Regions from separate parts of the Homo sapiens genome. Here region 2 is linked to region 1. Evidence: promoter capture Hi-C in human tissues and cell types (Jung and others, 2019). All regions are on one chromosome and are shown on one strand. The core of a region is centred on a gene start or on the middle of the fragment in contact, and the rest is flanking DNA. Distances in the headings are between cores, read along the strand shown. Region 1 holds the start of GATAD2B (GATA zinc finger domain containing 2B). Region 2 overlaps ATP8B2 (ATPase phospholipid transporting 8B2).

Evidence for each region. Contacts are between HindIII fragments. The study calls those that stand out against the background at their distance.
Region 2: a contact is called between a fragment that was not itself captured here and the fragment with the promoter of GATAD2B in region 1, in 1 of the 25 tissues and cell types used here (heart right ventricle).

What each region holds. Positions count from the first base shown.
Region 1 is chr1:153,921,706-153,925,301 of GRCh38, reverse strand. GATAD2B (GATA zinc finger domain containing 2B) reads left to right here and starts at 2,330. Exons shown (of 11, transcript NM_020699.4): 1 at 2,330-2,569. It overlaps LOC101928059 (a long non-coding RNA gene), which reads right to left and starts at 1,929. Exons shown (of 4, transcript XR_922160.3): 1 at 1,340-1,929. RefSeq lists silencers at 23-196, 1,255-1,549, 2,227-2,546 and an enhancer at 1,857-2,096. The HindIII fragment of the contact is 10,081 bases long and covers 1-3,596 here.
Region 2 is chr1:154,334,707-154,338,342 of GRCh38, reverse strand. It overlaps ATP8B2 (ATPase phospholipid transporting 8B2), which reads right to left. Exons shown (of 28, transcript NM_001370597.1): 12 at 799-995. Among named protein-coding and RNA genes, the nearest start is that of ATP8B2, 11 kb to the right of the region's middle. The HindIII fragment of the contact is 3,033 bases long and covers 747-3,636 here.

The sequences.
Region 1 (3,596 bases), core at 1,081-3,580:
TTGGGAGGCTGAAGTGGGAGGATCTCTTTTTTTTTTTTTTTTTTGAGACAGAGTCTCGCTCTGTCGCCCAGGCTGGAATGCAGTGGCAAGATCTTGGCTCACTGCAAACTCCACCTCCCGGGTTCACGCCATTCTCCTGCCTCAGCCTCCCGAGTAGCTGGGACTACAGGCGCCCGCCACCACGACCGGCTACTTTTTTGTATTTTTAGTAGAGACGGGGTTTCACTGTGTTAGCCAGGATGGTCTCGATCTCCTGACCTCGTGATCTACCTGCCTCGGCCTCCCGAAGTGCTGGGATTACAGGCCTGAGCCACCGCGCCCGGCCGGGAGGATCTCTTGAGCCCAGGAGTTTCAGAGCAGCCTGGGTAACATAGCAAGACCTCATCGCTAATTTAAAAAATAAATAAAGTGGGGGCTGCGGTGGGCGCGGTTGTTCACGCCTGTAATCCCACCACTTTGGGACGCCAAGGCGGGTGGATCACTTGAGGCCAGGAATTTATGAGACCAGCCTGGGAAACATAGTGAAACCCTGTCTTTACCAAAAATACAAAAATCAGCCGGGCGTGGTCACGTGCGCCTGTAATGCCAGCTACTTGGGAGGCTGAGGTGGAAAGATGGCTTGAGCCTGGGTGGTGGAGATTGCAGGCAGCTGAGATCACGCCACTGCACTCCAGCCTGGGCGACAGAGGGAGACTGTCTCAAAGAAAAAAAAGAAAAAAAAAATGGGTGCGTCTGTGTTTGTGTAGGATCTACCTACGGCTTTAAGTTGCCATGTCCTCCATTATAATTTCATTTCCATTGCACAGCATGACTTTTAAATAATTTAAAAAACATGTTCAAATACCTGTGGAGGCTGGCGTGGTGGCTCACACACCTGTAATCCCAGCACTTTGGGAGGCTGAGGCAGGAGGATCACCTGAGGTCAGGAGTTCGAGACCAGCCTGGCCAACATGGCGAAACCCCGTCTCTACTAAAAACACAAAAATTAGCCGCGCGCCTGTAATCCCAGCTACTCGGGAGGCTGTTGAGGCAGGAGGATCGTTTGAACCTGGGAGGCGGAGGTTGCAGGAACTGAGATTGTACCACTGCACTCCAGCCTGGGAGACACAGTGAGAAAACAACAATAACAAAATGCCTGTGGAACCAGTTGTTTCTGGGTTTAAACCACTGCTTAGTCACTAACTAGCGGTCTGACCTTTGGCAAGTTACTTAACCTCTCTGAGCCTTAGTTTCCTCATCTACTTGGGTTCAAATTTCAGCTCTACCACTTAACGTGTAACTGGACAAATTTTTTGATCCTAATTTTCCTCATTTGTAAAGTAGGGATAACAGTACCTACCTCACAGTCATGAGGAATAAATACTTCATGTAAAGTTCTTAGCACAGAGCCTGACACAGTCTCTTTCCAAAAACGTTAACTACTATCATAACCTTAACACCCGGACTCTGTTACTTGGTCCCTATCCTCAAGGTGCTCCAGAAACGCTCGCTGAGTTTAGGCGGGCCTAACTGCTCCGTGGAAGCAGGGAGGCCAGCAAAAGGAGCTGGCCCTTGAGTTAATTAGGTGGAATCGGGCGGGGTGGGAGGCTGTTTCCTCGCTGAGAACCTAACCAGACCAGGAGTTCCCAAGAGAAGGAGCTGCGAGGGCTCTGCACACCGTAATTCCTCAGCAACTTGGCTAGCTGCTTTTTTTTTTTTCCTGCTGTCGTGGTTTAGTCACGACAGGACCAAGCGGAGGTACGATGAACACCAGGAAGCTCAAAGCCTTTGGCAGACGGAGACAGGCCACACCCCAAAAAGACGGCAAGGCTCAAGCGCCTAAAGCTAGTTCTATCGTGAAATTTCCTAGAGTCTGTCGCGACGAAACACCGCCCACCGCAGACCCCATCGCCGTTCGCCAGTCTCCATCTTTAGAATTGAAAGAATGAGAGATGGCCAAAGGGGAATCCCGGTTTGGAGAGACTGGGGTACGGCGGCTGCCTGGGGACCAAAACGTCTCTAAGGTAAAGTTGCAGCCTGAAGCGATTTTTTGACCCCCGACACTTAATGGGCTGTCGAAGACCCGGATGTGTCTGGGACTGGCAGAGGTACCCATTAACGCGCCCCCGCTAGACCATCCCCCCTCCTCCGTTTATGATTGGGTTTTAAGCACGCCAATCATCACTTCTCCGGCCACTCATTCTTCAAGGGTGGGGTGAAGTCCCGGCATCTAGTCTTCTACTGGCATGGCCGAGAAGATGAGGGCGGGGTGGCCGGCTTAGGTCGCCCAATGGGCGTCGTGGCGTGTGGGTAAGGCGGAGCCGAGGCGCTTGGCAGCTGCCCAATCAGCGTCCTTGTTTGTGTGGTGCCGCCGCCGCCGGTGCAGCCGTCGCCGCCGCCGCTGCCCCCGTCTGTACCGCAGTGTCTGCTCCGCCCGCCCGCCCCGGTCCGGCCCGCCCCCCTCCCCTACCCCCGTCCCTAGTCCCGTCAGCAGGGTCTGGATCCCCTGTGCCGTCGCCTCTTCCTTTTTCGACGCCTCCGCCGCCGCCTGAGGAGGCGAGCTAGCCGGGAGTTACACCGCCACCGCCAGGTGAGGAGCTTTGGCCTAGGCCAGCCTGGCCGCCCGCCCGCCCGGGGGCGGTGAGGAGCGAGGAAGGGAAGGAGGCTGGGAGGAGGCAGTGGTGGCGGAGGTGGGGGAAGGGAAAGGTGGAGGGGCGGGGGGAGGGGAAGCGCCCGCGAGCCGACGCCCGCCCGCGCGCCCCCGCCTTGCGTCCCCCTCCCCCCACCCCGGCACGGCGCGCCCCCGCCTCGCGCTCCTTCTTCACCTCATCCTCTCCCCCCTTGGCGCGCGCGACCCGGTCTTTCACTTCGGCCTCGCGCGCCCCCAGCTCGTGTCCCTTCATTTCGTCTCCTTGTACTCTTTCTCCCCTCCCTCACGCCCCGTTTCCCCCGCCATCCCCGCTTTCACTCCCTGCCTCATGCCCGCCATGCTCCCCTCCTTTCCTCTCTAGCGCGCCCCCCCCTTTTTTTTTTTAACTCTCTCCACCCCCAGTGGTGCCCTCAGGGTGCGGGGGCCGCTCCCTGCTCAGTCTTGTGTTTGCGGGCGGATGGGACGAATGGGGAATCTAAGGGTAAAGGAAGCACCAGATAATTATCTTTATTTAGGGAAAGGGATCAGGAGCGCATAACCTTACCCCTTTATTTCGTCGTCCACCGTTCGCTCGCCCTCCCGTAGGGGAAGAGAATTGTCTCAGGCTATGTGGGCACTTAGCTTCTACAGCGACTGGGCTTGTGGGACACACTGGATCTGTCTTCCAGTTCAGTTCCTGAGGGTCGGTGGAACTTACCCTTCCCTAACCACACCGGGACTTAGAGTACTTTTGGCCTCCCTGCTCTCAATTACATTGAGGAGCGAGCCACTCATGCGAGTGCAGAGGTTCAGGTGCCATTCGCGCGCCCGGTACAGCTTTCCCGTTTCATAAAGGTATGGTAGCCTCTTTGGATTCTTCCCCAGCATCAACTTCCAAACACAAGATGTTAGCTCATAGGGCTGGCAGTGAGGTGGAGATGGAGGCTTGGTGGTGGGTGGCATGTGGATGCTAACTGAGCTAGCTAGC
Region 2 (3,636 bases), core at 1,014-3,513, 410 kb before region 1:
CACAGGCAAATATTCAAAAGCCTCCACAATCAGGAGCAAGCTATGTTTCCAGCTCTTGCTCTTGGCCCAAGACCCTGGCCAACTATTTCCATAGGCCATTCCCAGGCTCCCATCTCCACACCTTTGCTTCCAGCCCTCTCAGCCTCCTCTCCATTGTGGCTCCACCTTCATCCAGCCCAGTCACCACTCAAAGCCCAGAGCAAATGCCATCTCTCCCTCTCTGCCTACCTGCTTAGGGAGCGACACTCTCCCAGTCCCCGGGCACCCTGTGCCTCCCACATGGTATCTCAGTCTGACACTGTCCAGATCTCCCCTCCTCGACCTATCCATCTGCTGCTGCTAAAGGCAGAGGCCACCTTATACATCTCTGTATCCCCAAGCTTCACATAGAAGACTCTAGGTCGAATTCTACAGCACTGGTTCCTATTTTGTTTTATAATGTGTTTAGATTTTCCTTCCTTTACTAGACGTAAGCTCCTAGAAGGAAGGAGATCCATTCCTAATTCATCTTTTATTTGTGATGGCACCTAGCACACTTCTTTGTACACAGTAGGCATGTAATAAATAGGTGCTGAATAAATCAATATTTTTTTTTCTCTAATACAGTCCCAAGTACCAGGAAACTGTGGTAAAAAGTTTGCTCTGCCCACAAAGATAAACAGATAACATCAAATGTTTACAGTACAGGAAGAAGAGGACTTCTCGTTACTTCTCAAGGACTTCATCTTCATAGAAAAGAAAAGTTCTATGGGACCGCCTGACTCCCTGGAGAGACCCCAGGTCAGAGAAGGCACATACCTGACATAGAGTGAAATGGGCACAACGGTGTTGAGGATGATGATGTAGGACCAGAAGGAGAGGAAGCCAGAGAAGAAGGCACTGTCCACTGCCTCATCCCACGGCAGGTAGACCTGGAAACGCATCCCCACCTCGTGCTCCCAGATGGCATTGCCAATGGCCAGGATCACCCCCATGCAAACCAGGAATCCAAAAATCTGGGGAGGAATGAGAAGCACAGGCGAGGCTGACATGTAGGAAGCCCTCAAAACCAAGTGCATCTGTGATGTATTCATCCCTTGAGCCCTCAAAAGCTCAGATGCTCTAGTGCAAGCTTGTCCAACCCATGGTCTCTGGGCCACATGTGGCCCAACACAGATTCATAAACTTTCTTAAAACACTATGAGATTTTGGTAACAGCTGAATGTTAAATGAAAAATAATTATAAAAAAAAAAAAAACTATTATGGGCTGGGCGCAGTGGCTCAAGCCTGTAATCCCAGCATTTTGGGAGGTTGAGGCGGATGGATCACCTGAGGTCAGGAGTTTGAGACCAGCCTGGCCAACACGGTGAAACCCCGTCTCTACTAAAAACATTAAAAAAATTAGCCAGTCCTGGTGGCACTTGCCTGTAGTCTCAGCTACTCAGGAGTCCAAGGCATGAGAATTGCTTGAACCCGGGAGGCAGACATTGCAGTGAGCCAAGATCATGCCACTGCATCCCAGCCTGGGCAACAGAGCAAGAACCTGTCTCAAAAAAAAAAAAAAAAAAGGCCAGGTGCAGTGACTCACACCTATAATCCCAGCACTTTGGGAGGCCAAGGCGGGCAGATCATGAGGTCAGGAGTTCGAGACCAGTCTGGCCAACATGGTGAAACCCCATCTCTCATCTCTACTAAAAATACAAAAAAATTAGCCGGGTGTGGTGGCGGGCACCTGTAATCCCAGCTACTAGGGAGGCTGAGGCAGGAGAATCACGTGAACCCGAGAGGCAGAGGTTGCAGTGAGCCGAGATAATGCCATTGCACTACACTCCAGCCTAGTGACAGAGTGAGACTCCGTCTCAAAAAAAAAAAAAAAAAATTTATGAGATTTTTTTTTGCAATTTTTTTTTTCTAAGCTTATCAGCTATTGTTAATGTTAGTGTATTTTATGTGTGGCCCAAGACAATTCTTCTTCCAATGTGGCCCAGGGATGCCAAAATATTGGACACCACTGCTCTAGTGGAAAAAGCTCAGAACTGGTGACAGGTTCTAGTCTGTCACCAATTATCATGTGGCCTTCTGTCTGACCATTATTTCATCTATATGATGAAGAAACTGAAATAGTTGATTAGCTCTCAATCTGGCACCTTGAAACCTTCCAGAGTCCTCAAAGTTGGTAAGAGTGGGGATGAGCTACTTTTAACATACCAGAAAACTTACTGTAAATAATCTATTCACCTGGGCTAGGTACAAGCCAACAAAAATGCCAAGCCACGGTAATGTTCACTATCTCACATAGATGGCCTTTTTTTTTTTTTTTTGAGATGGAGCCTTGCTCTGTCGCCCAGGCTGGAGTGCAGTGGCGCGACCTCGGCTCACTGCTGCAAGCTCCACCTCCCGGGTTCACGCCATTTTCCTGCCTCAACCTCCCAAGTAGCTGGGACTACAGGTGCCCGCCACCACGCCCAGCTATTTTTTTGTATTTTTAGTAGAGATGGGGTTTCACCATGTTGGTCAGGATGGTCTTGATCTCTTGACCTCGTGATCCACCCACCTCGGTCTCCCAAAGTGCTGGGATTACAGGCGTGAGCCACTGCACCTGGCTAAGATTGCCTTTTTTTTTTTTAAACTTGGGAAACAAACTTATCTTCATAAACGTAGATTTCTTTTTTGAAACAGGGTCTTGCTTTGTTGCCCAGGCTGGAGTGCAGTGGCATGATCCTAGCTCAACGCAGCCTCAATCTCCCAGGCCAAGCAATCCCCCCGCCTCAGCCTCCAGAGTAACTGGGACCACAGGTGCATGCCACCAAACCTGGCTAATTTTTCAGTTTTTTGTAAAGACAGGGTCTCACTATGGTGTCCAGGCTGTTTTCGAACTCCTAGGCTCAAATGATCCTCCCACCTTGGTCTCCCAAAGTGCTGGGATTACAGGTGTGAGCCACCACTCCTGGTCTAGATTTCCTGATTAGTCAAAAATCTTATAAATTTTGGAGTCTCTGGAGAGACTGGTAAAAAACCAGGCCACTGTCCAATTTCCTACATCTATTTCCAAAGCTGCCTCCGCTGTTTAGGCTTTGAAACAAAATAGGAGATTGGTGCCCAATGGCCACCAGGGGGCGACTGGAGCCCTTATGTGATAGACAACCTCGCCCACCAGGCTGGGTTTCCGCACACTCTTTAAAGCCAGGGCGGAAACAAGCTCACCAGAGGCTAGCCCCAGCCTTCACAAGCTGGCATGTGGCGGGCAGGCAGCAGACAGTCGGGGCACAGGAAGGGGAGGAGAGCCCAACAAGGAGTTCAGATTTCTAGCTAAACAAGAGAAGGATTCAGGAACTGCCAAAAACTTAAACAGAAACTTTTCCTTTGGGATCCTTCGTTCTTAGAAGTTGGGGGGAAAAGACCCTGCCAACCTCTTCCAAATGGAAATTTTTCTTTTAATTCCCTCTCCATCCCCATGAAGGCCTCCTTGTCCCTGGCAAAAGCAAACAGAAGGTCACATGCTTCACAAAGTCATCATCATAACTGGAATCAGAGAAGGGATGATTTGTTTTAGCTTTAAGTTGTTGATTCATGCACGTTCCTGAAGTTTTTTTAAATAACATCTTCCAACTAAAAGGAGCCTAAAATAAACACTGCCTTTGTGTAGCTGACCTGCT